2 separate regions of the Homo sapiens genome follow, and region 2 is linked to region 1. Evidence: promoter capture Hi-C in human tissues and cell types (Jung and others, 2019). All regions are on one chromosome and are shown on one strand. The core of a region is centred on a gene start or on the middle of the fragment in contact, and the rest is flanking DNA. Distances in the headings are between cores, read along the strand shown. Region 1 holds the start of SLC17A9 (solute carrier family 17 member 9). Region 2 holds the start of YTHDF1 (YTH N6-methyladenosine RNA binding protein F1).

Region 1 (5,702 bases), core at 51-2,550:
CCGCCAGTGAGGAGGCCCTGAATCCCTGGGGAGCTGGCCCTGCCCGGCAGGCCTGGATGAACGTGGGTGGGGGAAGAGGAAGAGAGCAAGGGGCAGGGCCCGCTGAGGGCAGCCCTCCCCTCTAATTGGCGCCTGACAGGGCTGTGATCTGGGCTGCCAGCTTTTCCCATGCAGCCAGCGCTCCCTTCATCTGGGTGCCAACATCCGATGGTGGCACTGCCCCTTTGGGCCTTCCTACAACTCTTCCCAGCACTTCTAGGGTCCTCAGCCCTCATACAGCTGGGAACTGGTGGGGCCAGAAGGTGCCATTACCTTGCCATGGTCAGGGTAGGTACCCTGGGGACTCAGTGCAGGCAGGAGACTGCTCTGGAACCCACAGGGCCTGAGTCTAGGCCCAGGGTCCAGCCACTTAAGGCCTCAGCCCAAGACCCAGAGCCAAGGGGTTCAGCAGTGTGGGGGCTGCTCTCAGGAGCTCCCTGGCAGAGGCCCTCCCCAGCTGACCAATGGCCCGCGGTCACCATCTCGCCCGGTTTCTGAGGCGTCACCTGCCCAGGGAGCCTCCTACAGGCAGCAGTGCTGGTGGCCAGGCGACCTGCCCAGGCCCTGCTTCTCCCCACCACCAAATGCTCCGAGAGCTGAAGCCAGCGGGGAGCTCGTCCTCAGCACACAGCTGGCACGTGGTGGCAGGACCCCCCCCAACCCCGTCCAGCTGCAGGCTCCAGCCCGTGCCCCCTACCTGGCCTCCTGACTGTCCTGGCGCCTGCTTGTCAGGGTCATGCATACACAGGGTGGTTCCACCTGGCGAGGGGTATGCCTCCTGACTGTCCAGGACAATGCCCCTGGCCTGGGGAACATAGCCCTGCCTGGAAGAGCCCCAGGAACACTGGCTGGGATAGGGCACTTGCCAGGTCCGGTCCTGGAATCTCATGGCAGGGAGGAAGGACAGGGCACTCACTTCCTTCCACCTCCCACAAGGAACACAGGGGGCCCCACAGCCAGAGGAGCCCGCCCAGCTCAGCCCTCCCCACCTAGCATCGTCCCACGTGGCAGTATCTCAGCTCCCTCCCCACGGCCCCATCTCCACCGCTCCCACCCCCCCTCCCCTCACCCCCGCCACACCTGGACCACTGGGTGTCCCCGGCCATGTCCCTGCGGGCCTCGTCTGGGGGTGGCTGCATCGGGCTTGGGGTGCTCAGACGGCGTGGGCACAGCTGTGTCCCGGGGCTGCCTCCCAGCCCAGGCTGACCCACCCGGGCAGCACCGCCCAAGTCCACGTGTCAGTCCCAGCGCGCTTCCGTCTGGTTCTCTCAGGACTTGTCGCCCCCAGACGGCCACCAGGGCGGGCAGGCGGGGCAGGGCGGGGCATACCACTCGGGTGCCCGCCCCACCCTGCTGACGTCGGTCCCTGCTGCCCCATAGGAGCGGGGCCAACGGTCGCCCTGGCTGGGTCGCCCTGACTGTCCGACGCGCCCTGGCTCAGCCCCAGCAGAGGTTAGTGTGGGGGCAGAGGGGGATTCCCAGCAGCAGGCCGGTCAGACTGGGGCTTCAGAGAAGGGCCCTGGTGGTAAGCCTGGTCCAAGAGGTGCCAGCCCATCCCTTGGACACGACACGGAGCCATGGGGCCGTCTGTCCTCTGTCTATAAAATGGGGAATGATGGCAGTCCCTGCCTTACCGATCAAATAAAATCAGGGATAAAGTCTTAACCAAGTGCAAAGAGAGTAAAAGTACAGGGTCACTGATTTTTAAAATGGATCTTTCGGGGCAGGGATGGGTCCACTCCTGAGCCCTTGGACCAAGCCTGGGAGAGCTGGACAAATCCAGCGCTGGCCCATGTCTTCTCAGCAGATGCCTGTGAAGGTTGTCATTGGCCCCTGGGTTCCTGGACAAAAGGTGTCCTGAGGACCCATCACAGGCCAGGTTCTGGGCTCGGGGGCAGGGGTGACGGGGTGGGGCCCCCACTCTGTGTGCTCCTGCTGCCATGCCAAGGATGAAGCCAGCAGGGGAAGGCCTCAACCATGCAGCCTTTCCCCAGGAGGCGGCAGGGCCTGCTCCTCAGGCGTTGCCCCCACCTCCACTAGGGCCCACCTCAGTCCATCCTCCACGCAGCAGCCACCACCCAGGGGCCGAGGGAGACACGTCTAAGGCAGGGCCTTGCACTTAGAACAGACCCACATTTACCCCCTCCCTCCCCCTAGCCCTCAGGTCTCCAACAGCCCAACCCACTGCACTGCAGGGCCTGCTCCCAGGGCCCTCTGAACAGAAAGACACGGGCACCCTGAAAAGCAAGGTCATACTTTCATCCATCCTGACGTAGGGTAGGTGAAAAGATGGTGGCAGAGAGAGGTTTATTGCCCCAAACAGCCCTAGCCCATAGCCAGGAAGTTTGGAAACTGTTGCTAAACGTATCGCTGTCAACAGCACCCTCTTTGAGGTGATTCGCTTCCATTCACTCTGTGATGGTGATTTCCTACCGAGATCTGTGATCATGCTGCAGCAGACATTTGCCATCTGGTTACCCAAAGTCCCCTTCCTCCTGGAGCTGATGTTCTGGGGCAGGTAGACAAAAATCAAAGTAGTGAAAGGGGTAGGGAAGGGGTGTTACTTCAAATAGGTTGGGCTGAGGAGGCACCCCTGGACACCTGAGTGAAGGCTGGATGAGCTGAAGAAACGGGCCATGCAGGGATGGCTGGGTGGGTGAAGGGGCCATCTCACAGGGACATTATAAAGCTGGGTGCTGGTAGTGGCCAGATGGAGGCTCTCCACGCTTCTGGTGGATTCTGAGAGCTGCCCCGCACCCAAGCATCTTTGAGGCCTAAGGTGAAAAATTATGTAGGGACAATAGACAGTCAACACCTGGGTTTTCAAGGACACAGGGTGACCTTGCGGACAGGGCAGTCACAGCCAGCACCCACTGGCCTCTGCTTCTGGAAGGCTGCGTGCCTCCCTCTTGTTGGGCCTGGCCCACCTAACTTCTTGTTTATTTCAAGTGCTGCTATAGGGAGACGATGCTAGAGATTTTCCTAAAGCAAATCCACACCTCACTACGTATGGCGCCCGTTGCTCAGCCTCTGCATCCACACCCCCCACAGACGCCCCAGGAGACCCCGCACAGCTTCTTGTAAACCAAGACAAGCCAGCCCTGGGCCTGGGGCTCCTCCCTGCACCCCACTTAGCCCTGCAACCTTCCAGCCCAACTACAATTCTCAAGATGAGGAGTCCATGAAAAGGAGACTGACAGATGACACTTTCCTCTGCCATGACTGACAGGCAGCAGCAAGAGGGAAGACCGCGGTACTGGACATCACGTGCGGGAACTGCCTCAAAGGTGGGGGCACCTTTCGGGCTGAGCTAACCCAGTCAACAGCAGACTGGAAAAAGACAAAGAACTGTGTGAGATGGTGCTCAAAACCAGAAAGATGAACTCTGCAATGACGACAAATGGATTCGGTGTGATGTGGGCGTGATACAGAGAAACATTCTTGAAGGTTCTGGAGCAGTTCATTTTTCTCAGAGCTGGTAAACTCATTGTTCGAATCTTACAAGCACTAGTGTTCAACATTTCTAAAACTGGGAGGGCCCAGTGAGGACTGGATGGGCACACAAATCTATAAACGAGCACAGACGAACCCTGGGCTGCTGTGACCGCCAGCACCTCTTCCCGTTCTTCCATGACCCTCCATGGCAGAGAATTCTTGGTGACGGGTCAGCCTGCTTCACTTTCAAAGCCAGCTGGGAAAATTACCAAAGCTGTCAGTCACACACCGTGATCCACAAGAGGGAGAAAACCTTGTTTGTGTGAGGAACGCCTACAGATGTGTCTCCAGGAAGCAGAAGTCACAGCCAGGCGGAGACCTTGCCTGACACGGGCAGCTCAAGGCAACAGCAGCTCCACCGCTTCTCCCTGGTTCCCAAGCTCATCAATTCCACCTCAAATACACAGAGACCCAAGGACAGGAGGCGCTGCTGCACCCAGCACTCTTCATCTCCGAAGTGAGCCTGCGGGGTGACCAACTGCCTTGCATGGACGGACAGCTGGCGGAAGAGCCTGCAACGTGACCTGCATTTACAAACATGAGGAAACCCACTCACCTTCAGTTGTTACTCCTTTCATGAATTCTTTTGGTTATAGCTGTGCCTATGGCTTTACGGGCTTCACCTGATAAATGGTCTTCTGTACTATGGACAATTTGGACCCGTAAACCTGGCCTTGAACTAGGTGACACTGAAATGTTACAGACAAATCAGAACGTCACATTCCCTTTAAATATTCCCCGCACACATGCACCAGGCTGACTGGTGGATACTGGGGTGTGAAATGAGAGAAACAGCCCCCACTGTGCAGATGTGGGGACATGATTATTATCAATTAACCACAGGCTGCACCTCAGCTCCTGCACACCAGGTGCCTTGTGCCGGTGGCTCTGTAGCATGGGCCTGTTTATCTTCAAAGCCATTTTGTGGCTTCTGGAAAAGGCAAACAAGCTCAGGACATTGTATCTCCAAAGAGCACATCTCTTAAAAGATTCTTGCCATAGCTAGTTACACCAAAGGCCCATTCAAACCCCATGTTCTACTTTAACAGAAGTGAAAAACCACAAGCAAAGATGGCATTCCAAAATAAGGCAGAATATCTAAGACAGGAAGGCCATGTGTGCAAGGATGGTGTGAGCCTCCAGACTGTAGTGTGGGAGCTCACACTGAAGCATTCCTGGTGATGCCCACCTCCACTAAGAACTACCGTGCTGCCTTCTGACCCGTGAGGCTAATGGACTGGCACAGGTGTGTGAACATCAAGAACACTGTGACATGCCACTGCCACATAGGGAGGAGCAGCAGGTGAGGAGAGGCCTTCCCTGTTCTCTGATACCCAACAAACATGCAAGCTCTCAACGCCTCGCTCCATGATGCCCGCTGCTCAGCTTCTCTGCATGGGCAGTTTCTGAATTTCACCTCAGGCCCTTGAAGGGGTCAGTCTGAGTCCTTTCCAAGAACCCTACAACTGCCTTCCACTCATGAAGACGCTCATGGCCCTGAAAGCATGGTAGCCACCCAGAATCAGACACCTGTAGTTATCTCCTGCCTGGGGCTCTGGCAGGTGGTGGTGGGTGTCAGGCTGACTGGTGGATACTGGGATGTGCTGGCGTATTCCCTCTGTTTTTAATATGTTTGGAAAATTTCATTAAGCAAAAAAAAAAAAAAAAAAAGAGTAATTACTTAGGCTATTAAAATCAGTTTAAAATCATGCAGTGGGTAGCTCAAAAGTTCTACTTCCTTCACACCAAGGAAATTAGTTTATGAAACATTAAGTGCCCCAGTCAAGAGAGCAGCCGATAGGTTTCAAATTAAACACACCAAGTACAGATTTACAAACTAAAAGGGGCAGCACTGTCAGAGTGAGAGGAGAGCCAACTACAGTTCCAAGAGGCGAGCTTTCTTCTGTCCTTCCATTCCAAGATATCAACTTTCAATACAAATGCATCAGTATTTGTTATTAAAATACCCTTAGGAAAAAAGAGAGCTTCCAGATAACAGTTCTGAGAAAAATGTGAAAACTTTTACTGTTACATTAAGAACAGGTGGTAGAAGCAACCTATTCCGCACTTCTCAAAAGATACAGAGGGGCACATATGCCACACTGGAATAAAGAATACAGAATCAAACATGTACAAAGGTACCACAGCAGGTTATGGTTCATACAGGA
Region 2 (6,031 bases), core at 2,413-4,912, 260 kb before region 1:
AGTGTAAGCGCCTTTGGCCCAGTGATTCCATGGGCAGGAGCCTCCTGCCAGGTGTCTTCGCACACGTGTGCATGTGTGTTGGGGCCAGGACACTCACTGGATGAGGCTGGAGCCCATGCCCTCCCTGGAGAGGGACGAGGTGGGTGGACGGCGGGTGTTGATACTCAGCAGCACTGTGGATCCCCAAAGTGCGGTTTCCCAACACGTGAGATGCAAGGGCAGATAGTGGAGACAGAGACTCATGCTTGCATGCACAGGCAGGCATCTGGAGGGCTCCCTCTCTGAGGGGTTTGGGGGTGGTGGTTTTTGCTTCCCACCTTATATCCTTTGAGTGCAAAGATAGCTTTTTAACCATGCGCCTGTGTGACTTTCAAATAAATAAAAACCCAAACCTTCCTAATGCTAGTCATGTTTAGACAATCCCATACCACTTGAGGGTGCTGCCAGGAGCGGGTACTGCTAGGAAGGGCTCTTGGATGAGCAACAGGTTCCCCGAGCAAGAAGGTTCCCGTCTGAAGGCAGACGGCCCACAGGGGATGGGCTCTTGTCTGTCATTGACGGCACAGGCTTAGAAATGGCAGGCTTTGTCTCAAGACCGCTGGGCCACCCAGAGGAGTGGCCAAAGCCCTCTGATCCGTTTCCATCCATGACATGAGGAGCTGCCTGCTCCCTGTGAGGGAGAGACAGTTGTCCCCTGACATTCGGTGCTGGGTGACCTCCCTTTTCCTGGCCGAGAGCTGGGCTGGGGTGTGAACCTGGGCAGGCTGGGCAGTGGACGTGGCCCTCCAAGGTTACAGGCAGCTCAACTCCTGGTTTTCTGTGACACCCTCCCAGGTCCTCAGGCCTGGCCAAGATAAAGGCTTTCCCCCCAGAGCTGGCCTGGGGACCTCAGCACCCCCTGCTGGTGCCACACCCCCTGCATTCAATTCACTTTAGGGCCCCCTGTTCCCGCCAACCAGACCTGTCCTGCCCCTGGGCAGCCCCCAGTCTCCTTCCATGTCAGGGTCAGCATGGAGCCTTCTGGAGTTCACAGCAAAAGCCTGGGTGGGTCCGGGCAGTGGCTGTGGGATCCTGCCAGCCTCTTCCCTGGCCAGTGGGGCTAGGCTGGCATGGTGGTGCCTCCTCAGGCCTCACTGTGGGGGCCTCTCCTTCCATCTACATTTGTGAGTAGAACCTACTCAGCCCCAGGAGTCACCCTCCAAAATCTCTCCATAGGCATCACTGTGAGGCCTCCCCAGTGATCTCTGTAGTGAGCTGAAGAGTGTACCCCCAAAACTCATGTCCACCTGGTACCTGCGTGACTTTATTTAGAAATAGGTTCTTTGCAGATATAATCACAAGACGATGAGGTTATCCTGGATTAGGGTGGGCTCTAAATCCAGATGAGTGTCCTTATAAGAAGAGACACAGGCACAGAGGAAAAGGCCATGAGGTGACGGAGGCGAGGAGGAAAGACCAGGAAGGGCTGCGGCCTCCACCGGAGGCTGGAGGAGGCTAGGATCCTCCCCGAGGGCCCTGGAAGGAGCTTCTGTCTCCACTTCAGCCCAGCAATACTGATCTGAGACTTCTGGCCTCCAGAACTGGGAGAGAATAAATTGCCGTTATTTTAAGCCCCCCAGTTCCGGGTACTTTGTTGAGATAGCTCCAGGAAACTGAAACACCTCCAGGGTCCTGCATTGCCGGCACTCAGCCATCTAAGAAGGCCCCTAAGCTCGGAGTGGCCACTTCCCGCAGGGCCAGTGCTGCCTCCTGTGACTGGCTGGGCATTTGTGGGTGAAGGCAGCAGGTAACAGCCAGTGTTGACAGAGCCCTGGCCTGACGCCAAGGGCTGCATACCCAGTTTCTTCCACACACTCATCCTGTGAAAGGGGAGTAATTAACCCACCACGGAGGAGGAAAGTAGGCCTGAGGCTGAAGGCCCTGTAACTGGCTGTGAGGCTCTGAACTCCAGTGGTGACCACTGCACCGTCCTGGCCCAGGGATGGGAGCTGGGTGAGAAGACAGACAGGGGCTCCAAGAGTCCGAGTGTCTACTCTGACCACCCAGACACCCCCTTGCTGCAGTCTTGGCCGCCAAACAGTTCAGTGTCCTGGGAAGCAGGCACTCAGGGCCTGCCCAGGATGCGCAGGCCTTATCACACAGAAGCAGGTGGCAGGGTGCCCCCAGGGACCCCACTGTCCCTACAATCCCCACACATCTTCTCCATGTGGGCCACCATCCTGGAAACGTGCTGTTCATTTTCGGATGTACCCCAAATGCACAGATTTCATCCTGGCCTGAGATGTCTGCCCATGGCCCAAACACATCAAAGTCCCAGGGGATCCAGATTCATCCTCAGGGCACCAGACATCCCCCAGCTCTGTTCCAGGGAAACAAGCCCAGCCCGCTTTCCCCAGCTTTAGGCGAGGCAGGGCTCCAGGGAGACCTGGAGCAACTTGGAGCAGCAGTCCTCTCTGTGGCTGACCGGCCTGCTGGGGGCAGTTTCCACCTCCTCCTGCAGCAGTGTGAGAGGCTGTCTGCTACCCCACTGATGCGGATGTCCAGGCTTGGAGCCGTCTTGGGACTCCATTGCCGTCCCTGCTGTCACTGTTCACCCTGCTTAGCGCATCTGCCCGGGCCCACTTTGTGGAAAACACTCATTTGACGTCAACCTGCCTGACACCCCATTCCAGGTCTTTCTCCTTTAGCAGGACCCAGATCCAGGCCACGTGAAGATGTTACAGCTGCCAGAGCTGGAAAGAAAAATATCAACCTGGAAGCCTCTGTAGGGAGTTAGCCACAAGGGTGGCAGGATTGGATACTGGCTGCAGGGAGCGAAATTCAACACCTTGACCAGAAGGGCGTCCAGGTTGGGGATGCTGAGGGGTTAGGAACTGAGAACTGGGCTCTCTTTGCACAGTTGCTGCTAAGAAGGGGCTGTCCATCCTCGAACAAAGATGACAAGTCCCCTGGCCCGGCCTAGGCTGGGGCACAGAGCACTGCTTTTCCTCCTGGTGATGAAATCGGGGTCAAGAATCTAACATGAGAACTTGGTTATAAGCCGGCGAGCCTCTCGCAGGTCCAGGGGTGCATCCACACAACAGCTGACCTCCGGGACCGGGCCCAGGGCTCCGCTGCGGCTGAAGGCCAGGGCCGCAAAGCGAACAAAGCCCGCAGGTCCCGCGGCAAGGGCCGAGGCGCGCGACCTGGAACACGCGGGGGCTCGGAGCTCTGGGCGGGCAGGTGTTTGCGCGCGGGGGAAGGGCAGACCGACCCCGGACAGACCCGTAGCCCAGCTGTCGGACCAGAACAGCGTTTAGTCTTCGGACCTTGGGGAAAACTACAGAGGCCTCAGTGCCGGTAGCGCGTCGGGGGTGCGGCTGTGGCCGGGGTGTGTGTGGGCGGCTGTACACCTGGCAGCAGCCCGCCAGCCCCTTCCCGCCAGGCCCCGCGGCGCCTCCGGACACGCCCCACGTGACTTCCCCGGCTCAGGGCTTCCCCGCCCAGCCGGCTGCGGTCCCCGCCCCGCCGCACGAGACTGGGACCTGAGAGCGAAATCCATCCCGTAAGACGGGAGCGCGCAGGCGCGAAGTGTGGCGGCCCGGCGCGGCGCTCCCGGCCTGCCCCGCGTGCACGCTGACGCCGCGCAGTCTCGTCCCCTGCCGCCGCCGTCGCCGCTGCTGTCGCCGCCGCCGCCGCCATTGGAGTCGACGCCTCCTCAGTGCGTCCGCGTCCCGGGCTCACCGCCGCTGCCGCCTCGCCAGGGGCCCGCGCGCCCAGCAGCCGCCGCCGCCGCCCGGCCGGCGCCCGGGGAATTGGCGGCGGGGCCCGGGGCCGCGCGAGCTAGGGTGACAGGCCCGGCCTCTAGGGGAGGCCCGAGCCGGCGGGCGCCCCGGCCCCGCGTCTAGTTGTTCATGAAGCATGTCGGCCACCAGCGTGGACACCCAGGTAGCGGGGCCGGGTTACAGGGGCCGCGGCCGGGGCCGAGGCGCGGGGTCTGGGTTGAGGTCCTGGGGCTGGAACGCAGAGCCCGGGGTCGCGGAGGCCGGGCCCAGGCGGGACCGGGGTCTCGGGGCCGGGGTCGCACGTGACCGCGCGTCGGGGCCGGCGGAGCTCGCGGCCCGTTGGAGACCAGTTCTCTGGTGAATAACTTTGTGTTTCCCTCTTCCCCCGGGTTGTGTGTACCCCACGTCCCGGCCTGCGGCGGTGCAGAGAACAAAAGGACAAGATAATAAAGGTGAGCGGAGTCCCGGGACGGCCGGCGCGGGCTGGAGTGGAGGAGGACGGGGAAGGAACGGTCCAGGAAGCTGCGTCTGGAACCGGAAACTTTCTCTCTTCCGCCAGCTTCAGGGAGATAAAACTTGAGGTTGTGCGACGATTCTGGGAGATTTGACAGGTCGAAGACAGGGGCTTCTCAAGAAGTGAATAAATGATTGCTCAGAGTAGTTTGGGCCCGTCTCTCCCCACCGCATGATCATGGATTTGCTTTGGGGAAGGGGAGGTAGGAGAGCCGGGTGGACATGGCCGCAGGGGTTGAGCGACTTGCCTTTTTCCGCCCAGCAGGGGCTGCTCTAGGAGAGGGGCAGTCCAAGGTTCTGCAGGCTAAGCTCCACATCCCCGGTAGTTGCAGCCCGTTTTCCAAGTCTGTTAGCATCTCCTGTGACATTATGGCTTGGGATAAACCCTCAGAGCGCACTCATGTGAAAACTGTTAAGTGACACTTCACGTTTACTTGGAACACTTTTTTAGCCAGTTTGTGTGTCAGCTCAGGTGTAACCAAATACGGTTCATCGTGTTTTAAGATTGGAAAAGGCCCAGCACTTTATTTACCTTTGCTTGCTTTTTCTGGCTGAGCATAATAACAGTGGGAAGGTAAGTGGTGTAAAAGGAAAACCAGTCTTGGGGCACCCAAATCACTGAGCCAAAGGGAGAAAGCTACGCTGAGAACTGCTGAGGGCAAACCTGCCTCCCATTCTATTCCTGAAAAAGATAGCTTCTAAGACAAAAAAAGTTACATACTTCCCCCACAGTTTGCCCACAAGGAAATTCCTGGTGGACAAAGGACAGAACTCAGAGTCATTCCTGCTCACTGAGATAAATGCTTATCTGATTGCTTCCTTTGGAAAGGCTAATCAGAAACTCGAAAGAATGCAGCCGTTTGTCTCTTATCTACCTATGACCTGGAAGCCCCCTCCCTGCTTCAAGTTGTCCCGCCTCTCCGGACCAAACCAATGTACATCTTACATTGATGGTTCTCATGTCTCCCTAAAATGTATAAAACTAAGCTGTCCCCCGACTACCTTGGGCACATGTTGTCAAGACCTCCTGAGGTTGTATCATGGGTGTGTCCTTAACCTTGGCAAAATAAATTTTCTAAATTAACTGAGACCTGTCTCAGATATTTGGGGTTCACTGTGGAGAGTCAGATAATAGCTCCCAACAGTCCTTCAGTTGCAGCCCCTTCCCTCCTAAGTTTTCTTCCCTCCGTTCTCCATACGTTTGGGCATACATTCTGCATTTGGGCTTTTGGAGGCTCCACTTCTTTTTGCCACACATAAGTCTTCTTAGACCATGTCAGTTTTCACCCTGGTTATGTGTTCCTTGCATTATGTGTTAACACTTGATTTGGTTAATCTCACCAAATTACGATTAAGCCTTTATTTAAAATTTATCCTAAATTATTGAAAGTTTCCCGTCCCCCTTCTAATTAGTTGTATAAACATCAGTTCTATACTGGTTGTACTCCTTTTAAAATTAAAGCATAATTTCTGCTAGAAATAGATGGAAATAGACTTTGCTAACTTTGCCTTCCAAGCTTAAAAGTAATCTTTTAAAATTTGAGGGTAATATTTTGCAACTTTTTGTTCTAGTACAAAATGGTTCGTTACATCAGAAGGATACAGTTCATGACAATGACTTTGAGCCCTACCTTACTGGACAGTCAAATCAGGTGAGTTTATTTTGTTAGCATATATTTGTTTTTAAGTTGGTTTTAATTGTTTTGTACCTTTACTGTCATTTCTGATTTTTAAATTATCCTAAACAACAAAGC

The links. The method cuts DNA at HindIII sites, captures the fragments that hold promoters and counts their contacts. A contact is called where the count stands out against the background at its distance.
Region 2: a contact is called between the fragment with the promoter of YTHDF1 here and the fragment with the promoter of SLC17A9 in region 1, in 1 of the 25 tissues and cell types used here (dorsolateral prefrontal cortex).

Annotation. Positions count from the first base shown.
Region 1 is chr20:62,948,307-62,954,008 of GRCh38, reverse strand. SLC17A9 (solute carrier family 17 member 9) reads right to left here and starts at 1,300. Exons shown (of 13, transcript NM_022082.4): 1 at 1,120-1,300. The coding sequence starts at 1,178. GID8 (GID complex subunit 8 homolog) reads right to left here. Exons shown (of 5, transcript NM_017896.3): 5 at 5,534-5,702. RefSeq lists silencers at 1,080-1,179, 1,190-1,509 and an enhancer at 1,061-1,890. The HindIII fragment of the contact is 20,012 bases long and covers 1-5,702 here.
Region 2 is chr20:63,213,762-63,219,792 of GRCh38, reverse strand. It overlaps YTHDF1 (YTH N6-methyladenosine RNA binding protein F1), which reads left to right and starts at 3,662. Exons shown (of 5, transcript NM_017798.4): 1 at 3,662-3,927; 2 at 4,192-4,216; 3 at 5,850-5,929. The coding sequence starts at 3,901. RefSeq lists silencers at 3,310-3,589, 3,720-3,789. The HindIII fragment of the contact is 8,217 bases long and covers 1-6,019 here.